6 separate regions of the Homo sapiens genome follow, and regions 1, 2, 4, 5 and 6 are each linked to region 3. Evidence: promoter capture Hi-C in human tissues and cell types (Jung and others, 2019). All regions are on one chromosome and are shown on one strand. The core of a region is centred on a gene start or on the middle of the fragment in contact, and the rest is flanking DNA. Distances in the headings are between cores, read along the strand shown. Region 1 overlaps KANK1 (KN motif and ankyrin repeat domains 1). Region 2 has its middle 39 kb from the start of DMRT1. Region 3 holds the start of DMRT3 (doublesex and mab-3 related transcription factor 3). Region 4 overlaps DMRT1 (doublesex and mab-3 related transcription factor 1). Region 5 overlaps LOC105375949 (a long non-coding RNA gene). Region 6 overlaps LOC124902109 (a long non-coding RNA gene).

What was found. Contacts are between HindIII fragments. The study calls those that stand out against the background at their distance.
Region 1: a fragment that was not itself captured here is called in contact with the fragment with the promoter of DMRT3 in region 3 in 2 of the 25 tissues and cell types used here (H1 embryonic stem cells and lymphoblastoid cells).
Region 2: a contact is called between a fragment that was not itself captured here and the fragment with the promoter of DMRT3 in region 3, in 3 of the 25 tissues and cell types used here (H1 embryonic stem cells, IMR-90 fibroblasts and lymphoblastoid cells).
Region 4: a fragment that was not itself captured here is called in contact with the fragment with the promoter of DMRT3 in region 3 in 5 of the 25 tissues and cell types used here (H1 embryonic stem cells, heart left ventricle, liver and 2 more).
Region 5: a fragment that was not itself captured here is called in contact with the fragment with the promoter of DMRT3 in region 3 in 3 of the 25 tissues and cell types used here (lymphoblastoid cells, mesendoderm cells and thymus).
Region 6: a contact is called between a fragment that was not itself captured here and the fragment with the promoter of DMRT3 in region 3, in 2 of the 25 tissues and cell types used here (adrenal gland and heart left ventricle).

Annotation. Positions count from the first base shown.
Region 1 is chr9:736,530-740,470 of GRCh38, forward strand. KANK1 (KN motif and ankyrin repeat domains 1) reads left to right here. Exons shown (of 12, transcript NM_015158.5): 8 at 1,756-1,975. Among named protein-coding and RNA genes, the nearest start is that of KANK1-AS1, 53 kb to the left of the region's middle. RefSeq lists an enhancer at 1,360-2,559. The HindIII fragment of the contact is 5,158 bases long and covers 1-3,941 here.
Region 2 is chr9:800,838-804,536 of GRCh38, forward strand. No RefSeq gene overlaps it. Among named protein-coding and RNA genes, the nearest start is that of DMRT1, 39 kb to the right of the region's middle. The HindIII fragment of the contact is 5,888 bases long and covers 1-3,699 here.
Region 3 is chr9:974,450-978,093 of GRCh38, forward strand. DMRT3 (doublesex and mab-3 related transcription factor 3) reads left to right here and starts at 2,206. Exons shown (of 2, transcript NM_021240.4): 1 at 2,206-3,006. The coding sequence starts at 2,553. RefSeq lists enhancers at 1-839, 1,372-1,873, 1,874-2,373. The HindIII fragment of the contact is 20,406 bases long and covers 1-3,644 here.
Region 4 is chr9:843,165-847,050 of GRCh38, forward strand. DMRT1 (doublesex and mab-3 related transcription factor 1) reads left to right here. Exons shown (of 5, transcript NM_021951.3): 2 at 3,796-3,886. Among named protein-coding and RNA genes, the nearest start is that of DMRT1, 3.4 kb to the left of the region's middle. The HindIII fragment of the contact is 3,134 bases long and covers 1,070-3,886 here.
Region 5 is chr9:819,872-823,648 of GRCh38, forward strand. The region is part of intron 1 of LOC105375949 (a long non-coding RNA gene); the gene reads right to left. Among named protein-coding and RNA genes, the nearest start is that of DMRT1, 20 kb to the right of the region's middle. The HindIII fragment of the contact is 7,652 bases long and covers 1-3,777 here.
Region 6 is chr9:755,844-759,357 of GRCh38, forward strand. The region is part of intron 1 of LOC124902109 (a long non-coding RNA gene); the gene reads right to left. Among named protein-coding and RNA genes, the nearest start is that of KANK1-AS1, 72 kb to the left of the region's middle. The HindIII fragment of the contact is 4,502 bases long and covers 1-3,514 here.

The sequences.
Region 1 (3,941 bases), core at 1,203-3,702, 240 kb before region 3:
AAACCCTGTCTCTACAAAAATTAGCCAGGTATGATGGCATGTACCCATGGTCCTAGCTACTTGGGAGGCTGAGGCAAGAAGATAGCTGGAGGCCCAGGAAGTTCAGGCTGCAGTGCTCCATCATCATGCCACTGCACTCCAGCCTGGGAGACAGAGTGACACCCTCTCAAAAAAAAAAAAAATTCCTAGTCAAGGGGAAACATAGAACTACATATTGAAATTCTTGGATTTGTATTCATGAAAATACCTGGCTATACCCTGGTCACTAGTAAAACCATAAAATCTCACTGCAGGGTCAGTATTTCCCATCAGGTTTAACCTAAACTTAAAACTGGTGCCTTACAACCCCAGATTTTATAGCCATAGTACACTTTTCTTTCACTGTTCTCAAAATACTAGGTTACGTGGCCTTTGGGAAGGATTCTGTTTTCCTGCATCCTCCAAATTGCCGAGCATGGTGTCATCCACACACACTGTGATGGGTACATCTTTTTAACTGAATTTTCATTTGGTGTGAAAGTGTTTAAAGTATTGTGTTGTGAAAAGTAGTGGACGAGTAAACACAATGCCAGGGCTAGATAATCATGTCAGGACACCAGTTATTTAGCAGTAATAGAATTAGAATGACCAGAAGACATAATTTCCCTTCTTTCAGTGTGACAACTCCAGAGAAACAGGAATGTGAATATATACAGAAAAAAAAGGACACTCTTCAAGTGACCCAAAATGTGATTGAAATGGTTAAAACTAAATAATCAGTAGCAGGATGATAAAGAGATGGAAGCTCTATAATCCCAACTCTACCTTTTCTACAGAAAGAGGACTTCTTGGGTTCTGGTGCTTCTGACATAGGCTGTCTTTCTTTGATATATTTTTAAACTTTTAAAGAGTAAGCACAGCAGAAATGAATATTAAACTCATATGAAGGCCCATTGAAAAGACACTGTAGTCATCCTCATCACCAGTACTGACTGCTCAGTCTCCACTGAGCTTCATGTGACCCAGGGTTGAGTTGATCATCCACAAAGCAAGTGCCTTCTTCATGTGTCCACAGCCTAAGGAAGTCAGAGTGGAGCTGATGAGAGAATGAAATTAGTTCCAGACGGGGTTCCCTTTTATTTTCCCTTTCCGTGGTTGAACAGTTGTATTTGGGATTGGGGTGGGAATTGGGTTGGCTATACACGTACGGTCTCCCAACCTAGTGCTGTGCTGAGGAGTTGAAGGAGGTGAGTTTGGTCTGGATAGGAAGGAAGCAGCATAATTCAGTGTAGGCTAGTTAATTTCTTCCTAATTTCTATGAAAATTGTTTGCAAGGCCAGTATGATTACATCATATTAATAGCTTAATAAATGGAGCCAAGCCTGAGTGTTTATTCTCATCACAGAAACTATGAAAGCATGGTATTATCCAGTTTTTCAGATGAGGAAACGGAAGCAGAATAACTTCCCTCGGGTCATAAAGCTTTTAGGTAGCAGAGCCTGCATTTGAAACTCAGTGGTCTGGCTCCAGAGCCTCTGCTTCTGCATGGTGCTGTCTGGTCTCCTTTATAGACATTAGAATCTACACGTCATTTAAAATCAGGAGAAATGTCCCAGTTTGGTGTTTGAAGCTTCTCTTAGGGCTGTTGGTTTTTGAGAGCAGATTCTAACTGCATATATATACTTTGACTATAAAAGGACAGGTTACTTGTGCTTTCAACTAGGTCTCAGAAAGTCTATAAATAGAAGAACTAACGACCACTTGGTGTTTTGGCAGAGGTTCTGTCTGAACACCCTCCAGCACGAGTGGTTCCGCGTGTCCAGTCAGAAGTCAGCCATTCCAGCCATGGTGGGGGACTACATAGCTGCTTTTGAGGCCATTTCCCCAGATGTCCTCCGCTATGTCATCAACTTGGCAGACGGCAACGGCAACACAGCCCTCCATTACAGCGTGTCCCACTCCAACTTCGAGATTGTGAAGCTGCTGTTAGATGCCGGTATGTTGGCTGCCCTTCCACCCTCTCTTCTCTAACAGTACTTGGGTTGTGACTCATCTCAGAGAACCTGGTTGAGCCACTCCTGAATTCTCTGACCATGCTAAAATCCTTTTTATTGCTTTTCCACATGACATGGCAAGAATTTTCTTGAGTCATTCATAAGAGGCTTGAAGTTTAAACAAAACTGGGTGACACAGATTCTAGATCTGTTTTTGAAAGGAGGTTTTGAGGATCTTCTTGCTGCAGTTCAGCTGCATTCAAAAGTGAGAGGTGTATGCCTGGTAAGAAGCATGTCTCACGTTCCCTCCTGAGCTGAATCATGCGGGCTTGGCCGGTTTGCACTCAGGAGGCAGAGTGCTGCTTACAGGCCCAGGGTCACAGCCTTGGTGCGTGTGGACCACTTGATTTGACCTTACTCCATGACTGCTGTCCTTGCAGAAGTGTGTGGTTAGTCAAGATGGGGACTAAGCAAAGCCACCTTAACAGATGGTCAAATGATCACCATTCTCACCAAAATATACTGTTATTGGGGAAACAGCATAGAGCAAAGGGCATGTTATTCTTGTCTCTCAACCATAATAGAATAGTAGAAACTTGTTATCCCAGAATAGAGCCAGTGGACATCTTAGACATGAAGTGAGGGAGGGGCACATACACAGATGGTACCCTCAAGAAACTGTGAGCTTTCAACTTCTTGTTCAAATGGAGCAGCCTGATGCCACATAGACCCCAAGTCTTTTAATTTTTGTAATACATATTTTTATTTCTAGTATGTGACAGAGAAGTCAGAGTATCTCAGTCTGATTAATGAGGATGTAGTGTGAACCTTAGAATATGCAATCATACTGTCCAATTTTCTGAAATTCTGTCTTCATCCACTGTCCAATCTCTTCTGCTCTGTTTTGGGAACTTGGAATTGATGCAGAGAAGAAAGCCAAGCAGATTTATCCTTCCTTTCTCTTATAAGTGTGTTTGTTCCCTCTTTTTGGAGCCATGTTAGGGTATAACTGCTTCCATCTTACAGGAAGGAATTTCAAGCCCCTCCTCTTCAGGCTTTCTAGACTATAAACAGAGCTGGTGATACAGTCAGCCAGAGTGATTGTTTAAACAGAAGTAGATAATATCCAGGGAAGCTGAAAACAAGATTTCACTATCACTCCTGACAGGAACAGCTTAGTATACCCTTAGAAGTTGATAAAACATCTTGGCAAATTAAATAATTTTAATTCCATTGCTGGATGGTTTGGGTTAATCACTTATCTTAATGGTTACTGCTCCCCCTTCTAGGCTGAGATTCTGGCTCCATAAGGTGTAGATCTAGGATGCTTCAGCATCTATGCAGAGCAGAGTCCGCAAAGTCCGAGGTGCTAAGGAGCCCCGAAGCGCACACGAATTCACCTGCTTCTCCTCCACAGGGCCTTTTATTTTCTGCATTAAAAACACCCACTTTTAAAAACATGTCCTTAGTATGGAGTTGTTTGGGATCTTAAGGTAAATGTTCATGGTACCTTTTATTTTCCTTTATGATAGAAACATTCTGAACATTTTAACTTCATATTTGGTCCCACATAAAAGCTGCTTTCTAACACTCACCATTCCGGTCATTTCAGAGAAAGTGCCGAAGGAACTTTTAAATGCCCGAAGGATAATTTTATCCCTGAAGACTCCTTAAGAATTACAAGAATAGAAAAGGTCTGGTTCATCGATTCTGTTAAGGGGACTTAACTGCATTTGTTCTCGACCATAAATTCTGGAGCTGGATGTTATATGATTGGAATTCTGCTTTTCAGGACCCCCGACAGGCCAGAGTAGTAAATTCAGAGTCTCAGAATGAGTAATGTTTGGATAAGTAGGTACCACCCTGTCCAACGTTCCATACGTAAGCGTTTGCAAACACTTCGTTCATGAATAGCTCACTACCTGCTTCACTTTCCTAAACACAGCTGAGTGCCTAGATTCCAAAAAT
Region 2 (3,699 bases), core at 687-3,186, 170 kb before region 3:
GCTCCTGAAATCAAAGCCTGTTAATTCATTCGGTTGAGTTATTCATTCTGGCTCAGCTCAAAACCACTGACAGCTCAAAGTAAGAAAAACCTTATTTCCTAAGAGGTACAAAACTTGCTAAAATAAACATGAATGTTGGGAGGCCAAGGAGGGCGGATCACTTGAGGTCACGAGTTTGAGATCAGCATAACCAACATGGTGAAACCCGCCTCTCTACTAAAATACAAAAATTAGCTGGGCATAATGGCGCGCACCTATAATCCCAGATACTTTGGAAGCTGAGGCAGGAGAATCACTTGAACTCGGGAGGTGGAGGTCGCAGTGAGCTCAGATCTCGCCACTGCATTCTAGCCTGAGTGATGGAGTGAGACTCCATCTCAAAAAAACAACAACAAAAAATGAACATGAATGAAGAAGCCAAGTGAGAGGCAGGGTGGAAGAGGGTTGGAGAAAGAGCTAGTTCACCCAGGAGAGTTTTATTATTTGTAATATCAGATAGGGTTTAAATGAGCCTTTAGGGTGTCAAAAAGGAGTCTCGGGGGAATATGCCAATTCCTTAGTGAGGGCAAGAAAAACAACAATGACCTCTAAGAACTAGACATGCCTGGCTTGCTGCCCGCTACGGGTAGAAGGAGGAAAAGGATGAACGCCCTTTTGAGTTCAGAGGGCACTGTCCTGGGAAAAGGAAATGATTAGAATTTACATCTGAGCCCAGGTTTGTAACAAAGAAATTGCTTCATAATTTAAAAATTATTCATCCCTGCTTATGCTGTGGCCTCATCCCAGGAAGTAGCAAGTCAACTGTATCCAATGAGGGATTAAAGATAATAAATAAAAGAGTAGCAATTAATTGTGCATCCTGATTTAAGAGGCTGGGTTGCCTGAGTCATGCTTGTGTGGCTTATCAAATTTAGCTCTATTACGACTGTCTTGTATTTCAACTGATGTCTGTGCTCACATCTGAAGGCACTTGTACCACAAGGCGCTTTCAAATAGAAAAGAATTTAAACATATAGATTGTTATAGGATTCTATCATTCTTACAGCACGAGCCAAAAGTGTTGGAAATGGCAGTTTAATGAGTCATGCAAAGCGGCTCAGTATTCAAAGTCAGTGATTCAATTACGTTTCCCCCTCCAAAGGCCATTGGCGGCAGAGCGATAAAGTTGTTTTTGAAATGCCTTGGTTCTGACTTGCCTTTTTGTAATTCTTGCCCGTTTTCTTGCACTTTAAAAAGCAAAGGCATCCCAGTGGCCCAAACCCCAGGTCACCTGATAATCAGAATCATTATCAGAGCCAAACAAGAAAAATAAATGCATCGTAACGGTGAGGGGATTGGCAAGAGGGGACTTTAAATGCAGTGCCCACAATGAATCCACCCCTTCCTGTACACTTCTTGCCAGAGCAGAACTGGGAGGTGAGTGTGGGAAAGGGCTCTTGCTGAAATGTGGGGACAAATGTGCTCCTCTCTGGCCCTGTCAGCGTCCTTGGCCCAAGACCTTTGAAGGTGCCCTCGACAGCCCCAACAGGTAAAGATTTCTCTGCTTGAATGCCAAATCGCATTTTAACAGTGCACTAATTCTTTCATTTGCTGCCCTACATGTTTTTATCCTCAGGCCATAATTTTACCTGCCAACTCAGGTAAATAGCCTTTAATAGGACAAAGGCTTTAAAAGGTTATACTGTACTGGATTTTGTGCTGAGACTGTGTACTTTCACTGCTGAGTCCTCAGAAGAGAGATTTTGTCATCTAAACCAAGTGTGAGTCGCCCCAAAAGGCCCCCTTCTTGTAGCGCTTTGGGAAGGGAAGGGTGGCTCTATCGCCCATCAGACGGCTTGGCCACTGCTCCTTCAGAAAATGCTTTCCTCCCCTTGGTGTGAGTGAGCCGGGAGGCTGGAGACTGTCCCCACTGTGTCCACTCGTCATCTTCCTCCATAACATCACTGCACACTGTTATGCATGAATATTAGACCTGATGGGCTGGAGACAGCTAAAGGAAATCACAACTTAGAAGAGAAGAATTTAAAATTGAACAGGAACGTGACTTTTCCCCTATACAAAGGTATAGCTCTCAAAAAAGAAAAGGAACAAAATGTAAAATAACTGCCATGTATTATACCACCTAGAAATCAAAGAAAAACATGAAAACCTGCGCAAAATACAAAGAATTTATCAAGATGCTTACATTCAGTTCCTAGCTCCTCCCTCCAACAGCATTAATATGGGGTAGCATAATTTGTCGATAACACACCATAGTTGGGCAAAGCCAGACCATTCAGAGTCTCCAGAAACCACATGGGCTTTAATTTGAATTTTGTGAAATCTTTGTAATTTGTAGTTTGGCAATTTGTGGCACTCAAGCCCACAGCCACAAATTGGCTTCAGATGAATATCACCTATTGATGGGCTTTATTTCTTCTATATTTTCCAAGACACAGTCACATATTTTTGGACTCTCTAATTCATTAGCTATCTAGCAGGCACAGATATTATATTAGCTTGCTAGGGTTTCGTACAAACTGGGTGGCTTACACAACAGAAACTTGCTGTCTCACAGTTCCAGAGGCTAGAAGTCCAAGATGAAGGTGTCAGCAGGGTTGGTTCCTTGTGAGATGTAAGGAAAGGATCTATTCCGGGCCACTCTCCTGGGTTCTGATGTCTGCTGGCACTCTTTGCTGTTCCTTGGCTTGCAGAAGCATCACCCTCATCTTTGCTTTCATCTTCATGTGTTCTCCCTGTGCGCATGTCTGTGTCCAAACTATTTCCTTATTTTGCTTTGTTGTTGTTGTTTTTGATTTTTGTTTTTGCTTTTTTGAGACGGAGCCTCGCTCTGTCACCAAGGCTGGAAGTGCAGTGGTGTGATCTCGGCTCACTGCAATCTCCACCTCCCAGGTTCAAGAGATTCTTATGCCTCAACCTCCTGAGTAGCTGGGACTACAGGCAACCGCCACCACGCCTGGCTATTTTTTTTGTATTTTTAGTAGAGATGGGGTTTCACCAGGTTGGCCAGGCTGGTCTTGAACTCCTGACCTCAGATGATCTGCCTGCCTCAGCCTCCCAAAGTGCTGGAATTACAGGCGTGAGCCACTGTGCCTGGCCTACATATTGCCACTCAGGGATATTTGTTAAGAGGACATGCTTTTCACGGGGAAAATGGTTAAGTAAATTATTATCCACTTGATGGAATTGTATGTATTGATTTTAAATGATGGCTTTGAGCTCTATGTAATGACATGGAGAAAGTGTATTAATAATGTCAAAGAGAAAAAGGCAGAAGGATAAATGTGTTCTTACAAACTCATATACAATGATTAACAGTTATAATAAAGTCCCACACCTTTGTCCAGGCCTGCATGATTCAGCCCTCTGTCCAGCTCTCTGACCACATCTCCTCCCTCTCTCCTGGTCTCTTGCTGTGCTCCAGCTACTCAGGACCTCTTTTGGTGCCTCATACACACCCAGCTTGTTTGCACCCTGGGATCTCTGCACAGCTCTTCCCTCTGCCTGGAATGCCCTTCTCCCTCTCTTCACATGCTACATCCTTCCTAGCAATTCAAGTCAAGTGTGGCTCAACATCATGCCCTCATGAGGCTTTCCCTGAAAGCCCGATCTAAAGAAGAGAACACAAGCCTCCTTATCACCTTGTTCAATTTTCTTCTCCGGTGAATGTGAAATTATCCTTATTTCAGCTTATTCATT
Region 3 (3,644 bases), core at 956-3,455:
ATGTGCACCGGAGTGAAACGGGCCCCCGGGACCAAATGCCAGACTGTTTGAGTGGCAACGAGATAGGGTGGCTAGGTGACCGACGGGGGAAAAGGGGTCGCCTTGGTAGTGAAAGTGCCCCCACAAACCTGGTGCAGAGCTCTTCTGCTTTCCTTTTAAAAATTTATTCATACTCAAGTTCTTTATACTTCCTCGTTTCACTGTTTGAAGAAAATCGGAAGAAATTTGGTTTTGAAAAAAGTCGTTGGTCCCCACGTTTCCAAGAGATCCGGAGGTTTCAGCGCAATAGTTTTCAGTTAAGGTGTCATTTGAGGCCCTCTATATCGCAGCACGTTAAATGACTCGCGTCCAGCTCCCCATTTCCTAGCCTCGGGCCTACAGGGCTGGGGGCGACCTCTGCCTCCCGTCCCCAGAGCTTACAAAATTCCTTCCAGTTGTATTTTAGGGCTTGTTTTCCTAGAGAAGGTTGAGACTAGAGGAAGGATTAAAGTGGTGGGGGAAGGGGCAAGACCGAGGGGTCCCTACCCCACGCGGCTTTGGAGGATGGCCTCCCAGGGTTAGCACTCGAATGCTAGAGCTTCTTGTCCACACTCTACCAGGTCAGTGTCCCGCGATCCCCACCTCCCGGACGCGTATGAAACGGGAACAGCTAAGGGCTTCAAGGGAAACACACAACTGGGGTTCGGTTTTCAACCCTCCTCTCCGCAAATCAGCCTTCTGGGCAGAGGGTTGGCTGCTAGAACGCCTGGAGGTGCTTCCCTTGAATTCATGGCAAACACCAGAGGAAAGTTTTCAGGTTGCTTGCTTACTTCCAGGGCAGTACAGAGAAAAGCGGCCTCCCCGAGGGGACAAGGGCCTCTGTGCCCATGAGGGGTCGGACATTGCAGCGGACTTGCCTACGCTCTCATCTAGCATTTGATTCCCCACCAGGAGATGGGCTTGGTGCACGCTCTCAGAAGCGCATCCACCGAAGGCTCTGGAACTGCCCCGCTTCGCATAGAGCTATTGTGCTGCCCTGCAGTGTATCCACTTGTTTTGTTTGTTTGTTTGTTTTTTGGTTTTTGCTTGTTTGCTGATGGGCAGTGGGGAGGTGCGAGGGTGGAGGGCCTTCTTTGTGCATATATAGCGATAGTCTGCACTAGGCCAAGCCCGCTACTCCTGGGAGAATGGGAACACGCAAATAATCTAAACAAAGTTTTCTGCTGTCATCTTGTGAAGGACCCTCTCCCCCAAGACATCTATGACTGGGGTCTATGGGTTAAGGAGGTGAAAAAGTGGCCCCATCCCATATCCATAACTGAATCACAGAATCCGTGGGGATTTGAACTGAGTGGCTGGCGCAAGACCTCCGTTTGCTTCCAGTAGCTGCTGGGAGCGAGGGAAGAGGATATCGGTAACTTTGGGGGCGCCAATGTGGCTTCTGTGTCTGCCCCTTGAAAGTTTATACCCGGCGCTTAACAAATCCTTTACAGGAGCACGTACGTCCCTGACCTTTCAGGATACTGTTTTATATTAAAACATGGACAGGAGGGTAGAAAAGTAAAATTCGCCTGCAAAATGGCTTGTCATCCTTGGGCCGGCAGATCTCCAAAACCATTTTCTTCTAAAGCAACAAAAGAGAAAAAAATACGTTCTAAAAGGAAATTACGAAAAGAGCCTAACTTTCCTAAACCAACATCACTTCACTCCCCTATCCTAAACTCCACCCAGGTCCGGGGTGCAACCGCAACACTCCCGTAGGTTCGAGTTCTCCCGGAGCTGAGCTTCTGCGGCCAAATGTCGGGATAAAAGCGGCCTTGGGCTCGGAAAAACGCGGCCAGATCTGGACTGGAGGGAGGAGAAGAGAGAGAAGCGGAGCGGCCACCTCACTCGCTTACAGGCACCCCCACCCTCACTCCCGCTGGTCCTCCCCTTCTCCGCCCCGCGAGCACCGCCGCGTTCTGGAGCGCCGCAGTCTCCAGCCGCGGGCTGGGGTAGCGGAGAGGGCTTGGAGGAGGGGGCCGCGAGCGCCCCCGCGAGAGTGGCCTGGCTGCAGGTGGCAAGGAAGGTGAAGTGCAGGCACCCGAGGGGCGCAAAGGAGGAGGAAGGCGTGGGGCGGGGAGTGCAAGGAGACAGGGACCCCAGGGGCGGGGGTGGCGGTGGGAAGGAGGAGGGGTTGGGGGAGGGCGGCGGAGGTGTTGGGTCCGGCCGGCTCACGAGGGAGCTGCAGAAGAGCTGGCTCAGACCTTAATCAGAGCTGTCGCCGGCTCCTTGCAGCCGCCGCAGCGCCTCCGCGAAGGAGGACGTGCCGACCCGGCTGCGCGCCCAAGGCAGAGGCCCGCGTCGGCGTTGGCTGGGCGTGAGCTGGGAGGCCGAGCTGTGAGCGCGAAGGGAGCTGGAGAGACGACTGCGGCACCTCCGGCCGCCCCGGAGCACACACGACCACCGGGGCTGCGGGACCAAGGGCCGCGTCGCCCGGAGGCCGCCCCTGAGCGGGCCTCGCAGCCCCGCCGTCCAGCGCTCCCTGGCCCTCTCCCGCAGCCAGGCTGCCAACTCATTCGGGAGCCCGGGGCATGAACGGCTACGGCTCCCCCTACCTGTACATGGGCGGCCCGGTGTCGCAGCCGCCACGGGCGCCCCTGCAGCGCACGCCCAAGTGCGCGCGCTGCCGCAACCATGGCGTCCTGTCCTGGCTCAAGGGCCACAAGCGTTACTGCCGCTTCAAGGACTGCACCTGCGAGAAGTGCATCCTCATCATCGAGCGGCAGCGGGTCATGGCTGCGCAGGTGGCGCTGCGCCGGCAGCAGGCCAACGAGAGCTTGGAGAGCCTCATCCCCGACTCGCTGCGCGCTCTGCCAGGGCCCCCGCCGCCGGGGGACGCCGTCGCCGCCCCGCAGCCGCCGCCAGCCTCTCAGCCGTCGCAGCCGCAGCCGCCGCGCCCTGCTGCCGAGTTGGCCGCGGCCGCCGCGCTGCGTTGGACTGCCGAGCCGCAGCCCGGGGCTCTGCAGGCGCAGCTCGCCAAGCCAGGTAAGAGCGTCTGAGGTGCGGGAGTTTGGCCGGGCGCGGGGGCAACTTCGGAGTGCCAGCTGCAGCTCCACTTGGGAGGACTGGAGGCAAAGTTTTGGGACGTGGGCCTGTCGGGGCTTTCCTTCCTACTCTCCGCCAGGCCGGGGCTTCCTCTCCCGGGAGAAGCCGGCTGAGTCTGGACCCAGCGCGAGTGGCACTCGCGCCCGCAGGGAAGGCGCCTCCGGGCAGCCAAACGACGGGACTGTGCGTCAGTATCGCCAGGTGCCTTCCCAGGTTGAAGGGTTCGGAACGTGTCAGATTGAGCAGGGAGACAACGGAGTTGAGACAGGACAAAATTAAAACCCACGTGCGCACACTCACTACGGTGGGGTCGGATTTTCCTGGCTGCAGGCTTTAGAGGTCCTTGCCATTTGGGGGTTGGAATGGGTAGGTAGGTGTAGGGAAGGAGCCAAGGCCAACACTCGGCTGAGTCGAGCTGGCTGTGCTTCTCGGCCGGCCCGGCCCTGCCCAGGGCCCAGGAAAATTTGAGTGAGGACAAGTATCCAACTCTCAGAACCCTGGCCTTTCTAGCTTTGCTCCGTGGCCTCCAGACTCTTGTAACTGGTGAAATAAGTTCCATTTAGCAATGATAGTAAAAG
Region 4 (3,886 bases), core at 1,387-3,886, 130 kb before region 3:
AGGATCTTGGAGGGCGGCAGCGCTGGCTGCTAGGTTAGCGGGAAAGGGAGGCTCGGCCGGCTGCTGCTTACGCGGGTAACCTGTCGGAAAGCCTTGTTTGTTTTTCTGGAAAAGTCGCTGCAATGGACACAGCGTTGCGCGGTTTCCCTGCGCGCCTGGGGCGCTTTTTGTCTTCGCCCTCCGTGGATGGAGGCTGAGCGCCTCAGCCATTTTGAGAGCTCTGGAAATTTTATTAGCATTTTAAAATTTGCATTCTCGACCGAAGATTAAAGTGCAAATTACTTTGAAGATGTTTTAAAGCACGCTTAAGAATTTTAAAGAATATGCGCAGGTGGAAAAAAGCGCGCCAGGGTTTGAGATTTGGTCCGTCTGTGGTTTTGTTTTTTTGAAGGTTCGTAAGTAGGCTGGTAATTTAACATTTTAACGGAAAGTTAATGTCTTTAGTATTCTAAAAGGATTTTTGGAAGGCAGTAATCCACGTTATTTCCAGTTAAAAGTTGTTTCATCTTTTTAAGACAGGTTATTTAAAATGAAAAGATAACGAAGAAATGTTTGCTAACGATGTGCTACTTTTGATTAGGAACGTGTAAATATCCTCCATTGAAAACAAATGCCCGAAGGTTATATGCTTTTATATAATATATCAGATTTTTACAAATGTGTTTTATACTAAACGTATTTTGGCTTCACAGATGGCGAGTGCAGTCATGAAAATAGATATTGTTTTGCTTAATTTCTTAATAGATTTTTAAAGCTTAATCTGTAGTGGGTGAAAAGAATACACTGGGTGTGGCAGTAAAATGCATCACAATGAGTTTACTGAAAAAAATTAATGGACTTTTAAATTATACTCTGGGCAGAAAAATTCTCTAAACATTTAGTCGTTGGCTTATTTAGTGTGGAGAACATGCTTGGGGGATTTCTCAAAATGTAGTAAAAATATTCTAGTAGAGGAATTAATTTTGAATAACCTTTATTAGTAGAGGAGGCTGCTTACACCGTTAAAAACAAAAGCAACTCAAGGTCACTTAGAATGGGAAACTTCAGTATTTTCTACACCAGAAGGTGTGTACTGTGCCAGATGAATCCTTAAAAATCCATAAAACAACTACTTCTAGTCATTTTTAAATAGTTTGAAATTGATCTTACGTATGATTCTAAAATAATTGTATAGTTGCATTTTTAATCAATTGTTATCCCCTTTCCTTTTTATATAATATTTTCTAAGAAACCTTGAGAGAAGGTCCTTAGCATATGGAGTAGATACCTGTGCATTTTGGATGTGCTTCAGAGGTTTGCAGGGGTTTAAAACTTGTTTCTGGCCAGATTCATTGATGTTCTCTTTCTAAGCCTCTTGGTTAGTAATAGGAAATCCAAGATTTAAGCTTAATTATTTAATTTTAAGTAATTAATTATTTAAGATGAATTTTTCTAAGTCGAAGACTTTTTTTTGGCTATGAGGAAAATTACTTCCCAATTAATCAGCTTCCTGTGTTTGGACTGTGGTTTTCCTAAAACAACATATAAATTGTAGTTGTTTTTCTTTCTTTCTTTCTTTTTTTTTTTTTTTTTTGAGACAGGAGTCTCGCTCTGTCCCCCAGGCTGTAGTGCAGTGGCATGATTTCAGCTCACGGCAACCTCCGCCTCCTGGGTTCAAGCGATTCTTCTGCCTCGGCCTCCCGAGTAGCTGGGACTACAGGCACACGCCACCACACCCGGTTAATTTTTGTATTTTTAGTTAGAGACGGGATTTCACCATATTGGCCAGGCTGGTCTCAAACTCCTGACCTCAGGTGATCCACCCGCCTCGGCTTCCCAGAGTGCTGGGATTACAGGCGTGAGCCACTGCGCCCGGCCTGTAGTTGTGTTTTTTAATTGAACGTTTTGATTTCACCTTTGGCTTATATTTGGGCAGCTCTGCGGTGTGGGTGCTTCACTGTCATTTCATAAGCACCATACCTTAGTTTCAACAGAAAGTCTTTGTTACATGTAGAAAGCAAAAATACAATTAATTTTCTTTAAACCTGTTTTTTCAATCTTATTATTTATTTATTTATTTTTTTGAGACGGAGTCTTGCTCCATTGCCCAGGCTGGAGTGCAGTGGCTCGATTTCGGCTCACTGCAACCTCCACCTCCTGGCTTCAAGTAATTCTCCTCTCGGCCTCCTGAGTACCTGGGATTACAGGCGCACACCACCATGCCTGGCTAGTTTTTGTATTTTTAGTAGAGATGGGGTTTCACCATATTGGTCAGGCTGGTCTCGAGCTCCTGACCTCAGGTGATACACCTGCCTCAGCATCGCAAAGTGATGGGATTACAGGTGTGAGCAACCCCGCCTGGCCTTTTTTCAATCTTTAACGGTGTTATTGAAGAGGGACCATGAAGAGCTTCTTGGGTATGTCAGGTCCTTTCCAGTCCCCAGTTCTGGCTCTCTTCTTCCTGTCTGTCTGGAATATCACACACCTGTCTTCTCCCTTCCTCCCTGCCTTCAGCCTCTTCTTCCTTCAGGGACTTCAACACCAAATTCCAGCCCCTTTCCCCACTGCTTCTCCCGCATGCTCCCTCCACCCCAGGAATCAGGGCTCTGCAGGCTTTCCTAAGCAGACCCTGCCTGCCTTTCCTGCCCACCCTGTTCCATATTATTCCGATATGTACTGCCCCTTCATCCTTGCCTGTCCAAGTCCTCCTCATCCTATTCTTCAAGGCTCTGTCCAAATACTACTGCTGGCTGATTTTAACATGTGAAAGACATTTCTCTCTCTGACTTTCTTCTGTAGGAGTGAAAGGTACTTCTGTGTACCACTCTTGTGGTGTTGGTCTCAGTTTGCCTTTTGTTGTAGTTGCATGTTTGCCTCCTGTTTTTGCCTTTTTTTTTTTTTTTTTGGAGACATAGTCTTGTTTTGTCGCCCAGGCTGGAGTGCAGTGTCGCGATCTCGGCTCACTGCAACCTCTGCCTCCTGGGTTCAAGCAATTCCCCTGCCTCAGCCTCCCGAGTAGCTGGGACTACAGGTGGGCTAACATGCCTGGCTAATTTTTGTATTTTTTTTAGTGGAGATGGGGTTTCACCATGTTGGCCAGGCCGATCTCGAACTCCTGACCTCCGGTGATCGGCCCACCTCTGCCTCCCAAAGTGCTGGGATTACAGGTGCGAACCACCACTCCTGGCCCTGTTTCATTTGTTAAACAGTAAGTAATGTAGGATACAATCTACTCTTACTGGTACCTGTTTTTAGTACAGTGGCCTTTTACAAGTTTATGGAATGAAGGAGTGAGTGATCCCATTTTCCTTCCTAATCTGTTAGTGCTTCTGACCCACTCTACTCTTCAGATTGTACTCCTCCCCTTGGCTGACTATAGTTTTTTCCTGATCCTCCCTAGCCAATCTTATTCTACACAGTCATTTGTTTAACAAGCTTTTTTATTTGTTTGTTAAGAGACAGGGTCTTGCTCTGTCTCCCAGGCTGGAGTGCAGTGGTGCGATTATAGCCCACCGTAGCCTCAAACTCCTGGGCTTAAGTGAGTCTCCTGCCTCAAGCTCTTGAGTAGCTGGGATTCCAGGTATCTGCGACCATGTCTGGCAACAAGCATTTTTTGAGCACCTACTGTCTGGCTCAAAACTGTTTCTCAGCTTTGCACATCATAGTTACCTGGGTGGGTTTAAGAAGAAATGGGAGATTTTCAGACCTCACCTCCAGAGCTAGTGAATCATGGTGTCTGGGATGGGTGGGGCTTCTGTGTTTTGGCAAAGCTGATTCTGGAGTGCTGGAGGATGACTCATTGTCGTGTGCTTCCAGGTGGCCCTGAGAAGGCAGCAGGCCCAGGAGGAGGAATTGGGTATCAGCCACCCCATCCCACTGCCCAGTGCGGCCGAGCTGCTTGTCAAAA
Region 5 (3,777 bases), core at 1,123-3,622, 150 kb before region 3:
GTGGAACATTTTATGTATATTTTACCATGATAAAAAATTGAAAGACACATACTTAATTGAGTACAGCTCACTATCATATATTAAGGGATGCTACTGGTCGGGTGCAGTGGCTCATGCCTGTAATCCCAACACTTTGGGAGGCTGAGGCAGGTAGGCTTCTTGAGCTGAGGGGTTTGAGACCAGCTTACGCAACATGGCAAAACCCTGTCTCCACTAAAAATACAAAAACTAGCTGGGTGTGGTGGAGCATACCTGTCTCAAAATTTTTTTTAAAAAGTGAAAAATAAATAAATAAATAAATAAAAAACTTGACCCTAATGATGGAAAAGTTAACATTATAAGTAGATGGAAAAAACACCTCTCTGCCTGGAACATTTGCCTTGGCTCTTCACTTATTTTCCCAAGTTGCTTCCCTCCCAAGGTCTATAATCTCTACTAGAAAATGGAATAGTATTGGACAGTGTGCCTCCTGTCCCAGCCTCCTCATGACCCGCACCTGACCCAACCCTCTCATACTCTCCCCTGCATGCATGACTTCCAGGGTTGGGGGAAGCTGAACAAAGGCCTAGGGTTCAAGGGGAGGGCAGGGTGCAGGCAGGGCAGAGAGGAGGGAAAGGCCCTGCAAGGATCTCTGCTCTCCTCCTATCTCTGGCTTCCCCCTGCCTCTCCTCCCCCAGCCTGAGGCAGGGGGCAAATTGTAGACTTTTAGTCAGGAAAGAGACCCTAGGTCATCATTTCATTTCAGTTTTAAATGAGGCAAACAAAGTACAGAGAAGTGAAAGAGCTTTTCCAAGGTCACAAAGTCAGCTGGAGGCAGAGCCAGGACTAAAGTTTAGGCCCTCTGATGCCCAGTGCTGTCTGAGACCTGTACCTTGTGTGCAGTCTTGTCTCTGTGCTGCTCCACAATCCTCTCCTTTCTTTCTCCTCTACCTTCCTGCCGGAGTTTTTTGTTTGTTTGTTTGTTTTTGTTTTTGTTTTTTGAGACAGGACCTTGCTATGTTGCCCAGGCTGGAGTGCAGTGGCATGATCACAGCTCACTGCAGCCTCGACCTCCAGGGCTCAAGCAATCCTCCCACCTCAGCCCCCAAGTACCTGGGACTACAGGCATGTGACACCAGGCCAGCTAATTTTTAAACTTTTTGTAGAGATGGGGTCTTCCTATGTTGCACAGACTGGTCTTGAACTCCTAGGTTCAAGAGATCCTCCTGTCTCGGCCTCCCAAAGTGCTGGGATTATAGGTGTGAACCACTGCACCTGGCCTGGAGCACTTTTTATAAGCACTTTACTGAGTTGTTTTTGTTTGTTTGTTTGTTTGTTTTTGTTTTTTTAGATGGAGTCTTGCACTGTCGCCCAAGCTGGAGTGCAGTGGTGCGATCTCGGCTCACTGCAAGCTCTGCCTCCCGGGTTCACACCATTCTCCGGCCTCAGCCTCCCGAGTAGCTGGCACTCCAGGTGCCCGCCACCACGCCCGGCTAATTTTTTGTATTTTTAGTAGAGACGGGGTTTCACCTTGTTAGCCAGGATGGTCTTGATCTCCTGACCTCGTGATCTGCCTGCCTCGGCCTCCCAAAGTGCTGGGATTACAGGCGTGACCCACCGTGCCTGGCCTAGCACTTTACTGAGTTTTAATTCACATGTCTTAAAATTTACCCATTCAAAATGTACAATTCAATGAGTTTTAGTATACTGAGTGTTATGCAACCATGTCAATTTTCAAACACTCTCACCACCTCAAAAAGGAACCCTGTACTCATTAGTGGTCACTCCCCATTTCCCCTCAACCCCTAACCCTACGAAACCATCAATCTATAGATTTGCCTTTTCTGCACATTTTGTATTAGTGGACTCATATAATATGTGGGTTTTTGTGACTGGCTTTTTCCACTTAGCGTAATGTCTTCAAGTTTTATCCATGCCATAGCCCTCCAGATTATTCAATTGCTCTTGTCAAGGTAAGTGGAATAAAGGGGCAGAGAGAAGAATAAGAAAGAGAAAAATAAGAAAGAGAAGAATAAGAAAGAGAAGAATGAGAAAGAGAAGAATGAGAAAGAGAATTCTGAGGGCTACGACACAACAGCACAATGAGATGATGGCAGGAATAAATTCCCTTCTATGTACCATGTACCTAAGCAATCTATTAATATTCATTGTCTTATTTAATTTAATCCTCATAGTCTAGGAGCACTACCATCCCCTATTTAGATGAGAAAAACTAAAAAGGAATTTGATAGGTTTTCCAAGGGAATTCAAGTCATAAGGAGTAGAACAAAGATGGGAATTCAAGTTTGCCTGGCCCCAAAGCCCACTGTCTTCCTTTCATTAGACTGGTCCACTTTTTGGGCTATCAGATTCTGACAGTGGGTGGTTTCACACCCATGAGTGGTGGTGACTTCTGGTTAGTCAAAAAGAGTGATGATTTTAAATCATTATACTTCCCTAGCCCAAAATCTCCTCATTCATCATCCTCACATTCCTCATTGCAATACTGTTTCCAAGAGCCAAGGAAGAACAAGACCTACAAGACCAATGTAAAGGACTGGATAAAGTGTGGCACATCCATGCAGTGGATTCAGCGGTCAAATAGGTTGAAAAAGATCCTTCTGGACTGATAGGGAATAATCTTGATATACACAGTGAACAAAAGCCACATACAGAACAGTATGTATACTATGCCACCATGTGTATAAAAAATGTGGAGAGGAAGTGGAAAGTAACACACATATATATGTTTTTACTTGTGTATGCACACAGTAACTCTGCAAGAAATCTCAGAAAATGTAAAACCGGCCAGGTGCAGTGGCTCACGCCTGTAATCCCAACACTTACGGAGGCCGAGGCAGACAGATCATCTGAGGTCAGGAGTTCAAGACCAGCCTGGCCAACAGGGTGAAACCCCATCTCTACTAAAAATACAAAAATTAGCTGAGCATGGTTGTGCGTGCCTGTAATCCCAGCTACTCAGGAGGCTGAGGCAGGAGAATCACTTGAACCAGGAGGCAGAGGTTGCGGTGAGCCGAGATTGTGCCACTGAGCTCTGGCCTAGGTGACAGAGCAAGACGCTGTCTAAAAAAATAATAATAATAAATAAATAAATTTAATGAGCCCCTTAGGGATAACAGGTTTTGGTCTTGGTGCTGGGGATACAGATAGGAACCAAGCCAAATAGAAAAGATGGGAAAGACTTTCGTAGGCGTCACACATCTTGTTGTTTTGTTTTGAGAGAGGGGCTCACTCTGACACCCAGGCTGGAGTGCAGTGGCACAATCATAGCTCACTATAACCTCAAACTCCTGGGCTCAAGTGATCTTCCTCCTTCAGCCTCCCTGTAGCTGGGACTACAGGTGTGCACCACCACACCCAGCTAATTACAGCCCCTTGTTTCCTGTATCCAAAAGACAGTTCCTTTGACACCAGTAATAACTCCTCTATGAACAGAAATCTTGCACTTCTCTCCTGATTTTTCTATAGCATTTAGAACTGGTCTGCACCACACTTAACAATTACTTACCTGCCCCTTTGTTTCGTTTGCTGTGGCTTCAAGAGTGCTCAGTGTAGATCACCCACACTCAGTTGTTGTCACCGTTCACACAATTGTCTAAGATCATCCCAGGACCTAAGAAATATCCCTCTTCTCCCTTCCCACTACCCACTTGTTCCCACTGCCACCATCTGAGGAACAAGAGATAAGCAATGGGACCTTCCTAGGATGTGGTTAAAAGTGTGAATCTGTCCTAGGTTCACATTTGGGAGGCCAGAGGTGGGAGGATTGCTTGAGGC
Region 6 (3,514 bases), core at 929-3,428, 220 kb before region 3:
ACAGGCATGAGTCATAGTAGAGTCCCCTTAAACCCTTAGCTGGTGAGCGTTATTTCACCACAAGCCATGGCTATTTCCTGTGGCCAACAGGAAAAGGCTGCATAGTCATTTCTGAATTCCTGTGGAAGAACTACTCTGAGGCAGTCTTATCAAGCAAGTCTAGCTCTGTCTCTGGGCAGTGACCTGAAGGCATCTCTTCCTTAACTTTGACAGCTGATCCCAGACTAACTTGTCACATAGGAGTTGGACATTGGTTGTGCCATACTAACCCCAGGAGGAGGAAGTGGAGGAACTGACTGAGAGGAGAGGTTACCACTTGCTAATGAAGTTAAGGGAATCCTCATTGCGCAAGGACGTTTCAGCTCTTCTGCCTGCTCTGAAGGTGGAACATGCTGTGGTCATCACTTTGGTCAAACATGAACAACAGCCTTATAGGAGAGCAGGTGGAGCTAATGGGGGAACAAAGATGAAAATCATGTTCAACACTTTTGGAAGCACTGAACATGATGGGGTTAATGAGCCAGTGGTCTGATCCTCCTTCTGCTCATGGAGGGAGGCTGAAATGCCTGACAACCTCTGGCTTCTCCCTGCAAAAACAGAAGAGATCCTGGAGCTAAGATAGGTGACTTTTTTTTTTTTTTTTTTTTTTTTTTTTTTTTTTTTTTTTTTTTGGAGAAGGAGTCCCACTCTGTCGCCCAGAAGACTGGAGTGCAGTGGCGAGATCTCCACTCCCTGCAACCTCCGACTCCCAGGTTTAAGCGATTCTCTTGCCTCAGCCTTCCAAGTAGCTGGGATTACAGGCACCCACCACCACTCCCAGCTAATTTTTTTTTTGTATTTTTAGTAGAGAGGGATTTTTGCCATGTTGGCCAGGCTGGTTTCAAACTCCTGACCTCAGGTGATCCACCCGCCTCAGCCTCCCAAAGTGCTGGGATTACAGGCATGAGCCACCGCACCCGGCCAACATAGGTGACTTGTCACACCTGCTTCAGAGAGAGCCCAGGGCAGGCAAGGCAGTCCCCATTGGAGCTGACTTCCAACCCCATGCATGGCTGCTTCTCTGTGCTGCTTCCCTGCTGAGCTTCAACTCCCTTCTAGGGATGCCATTTTCCTGACAACCAAAATGGCAGGCAGAACCAGCCTCATTTGCTGAGGTTGAGAGGAGGGCGCCTGACACACAGTAGGGTTCAGAACCTGTCCAGTGAGGTGAATTTTGCAGGTTGTTCGTGGCAAATCTTTTTCTTTTTTTTTGAGAGGGAGTCTCACTCCATCACCAGGCTGGAGTGCAGTGGTGCGATCTTGGCTCACTGCACGCTACGCCTCCCGAGTTCAAGCAATTCTCCTGCCTCAGCCTCCCAAGTAGTTGGGATTACAGGCGCACACCACCACACCTGGCTAATTTTTTGTATTTTTAGTAGAGACAGGGTCTCACTATGTTGGCCAGACTGGTCTCCAACTCCTGACCTCGTGATCTGCCTGCCTCGGCCTCCCAAAGTGCTAGGATTACAGGCGTGAGCCATCGTGCCCGTTCATGGCAAGTCTTAAGGCTGTCAGTAACACATCTGAAGGGGGCCGTTATGCCAACAGGAAAGAGACATGTTCTGTGCTTCTCCAGGAGGAAGAGGGTCCAAAGTGCTGAGCCAAAAATCCAACAACTAGCACACATTTAAATGGGCTCCCCCAGGCGGGAATGAGGCAGGGAAGGTTTCTTCAAATAAACAGACACTCGTTCAACTCAACTCCAAATGGGCACCGCCCGCCCCCTGTGAAAGGCCTTGGTAAGGAGTGCGAGAGGTTAGCTGAGAAGGGTCCCAGCCAGCACAGAGGCTACTACTACCTGCAACCCCACCAGTTCCCTTCACTCCTCAGCCTGACCTATCAGCTCTCCCTAGTGGCCAGTGGGAGACATATCCAAGCATGAGCCAGTCTCCCAACAACGTTTAATTTTATTTATTTATTTATTTTGAGACAGAGTCTCCCTCTGTCACCCAGGGTGGAGTGCAGTGGAACGATTTCAGCTCATTGCAACCTCTACCTCCCAGGTTCAAGCGATTCTCCTGCCTCTGCCTCCCAAGTAGCTGGGATCACAGGCAGGCACTACCACATTGGCTAATTTTCTATTTTTAGTAGAGACCGGGTTTCACACCATGTTGGCCAGGCAGGTCTCGAACTCCTGACCTCAGGTGATCCACCTGCCTCAGCCTTCCAAAGTGCTGAGATTACAGGCATGAGCCACCGTGCCTGGCCAACAATGTTTTTAAAACAGGACATAATGGGTTACAAAATTAATGTAACTACAAGCATTTTTAAAAGTTGAATAAATCTGAAATCTTGATTGTATCAGATATATTGATGGTAACATCATTTCATGAAGCTTTGTGTGTGTGTGTGTGTGTGTGTGTTTGTGTATCATCTCAGTCACAAAATAAGATGTGTTTGGGGTTTTTTGGTTTCTCCTTAAGACAGGGACTCACTATCACGCAGGCTGGAGTGCAGTTGTGCAATCACGGCTCACTGCAGCCTCAACCTCCTGGGCTCAAGCGATCCTCCCACTTAAGCCTTCCCAAGTGGCTGGGACCACAGGCGCACTCTACCACACTAGGCTAATGTTGAGGCAGGATCTCACTATGTTGCCCAGGCTAGTCACTTTTTTGTCTGGTAGCCTCATGGTCTAGAAAAGTTTCAACGTTTATAGCAAGTAACTTTTTCTTTCAACATCAGCCTACTTCACTCTTCTTTTTAATTATGTTCGAATTTTTTATTGTAGTAAAACATACATAATATGAAGTTTGCCATCTTTACTATTTTAAGTGTATAATTCAGTGACATGAATTGTATTTACAATATTTTGTAACTAGCACCACTATCCAGATCCAAAACTTTTTCATCACCCATAAAAGAAACTCCATAACCATTAAGCAAAACTGTCCATATCCCCTCCCTCAACCCCGGTAGCTTCAGTTCCACTTCCTGTCTCTATGCCTTTGCCTATTCTAGATAGCTCACATAGGGGAATCATGCAACCGTTGTCCTTTTGTGTCTGATTTATTTCTCTTAGCATAATGTCCTCAAGGTTCATCCATGTTGTAGCACATGTCAGAACTTAATTCCTTTTCATAGCTGAATAGTAGTGCACTGTATGTATATTCTGCCTTTTGTTTATGCATTCATTTGTTATCACCACCTCATCTTATTTTATTTGAGACAAGGTCTTACTCTGTCACCCAGGCTGGAGTGCAGTGGCGCAATCATGGCTCACTGCAGCCTGGACTTCTCGGGCTCAGGTGATCCTCCCACCTAAAGCCTCGCAGGTAGCTGGCATTGCAGGTGCGCACTGCCACGCCTGGCGAATTTTTTGTAGAGATGGGGTTTCACCATGTTGCCCAGGTTGGTCTCAAATGATCCTCCTGTCTCGGCCTCCCTAAGTGCTAGGATTACAGGCATGAGCCACCACACCCAGCTACCACCTCATTTTAAAATAAAGTGAAGCTCAGACTGGCTTCACTACTTAGCG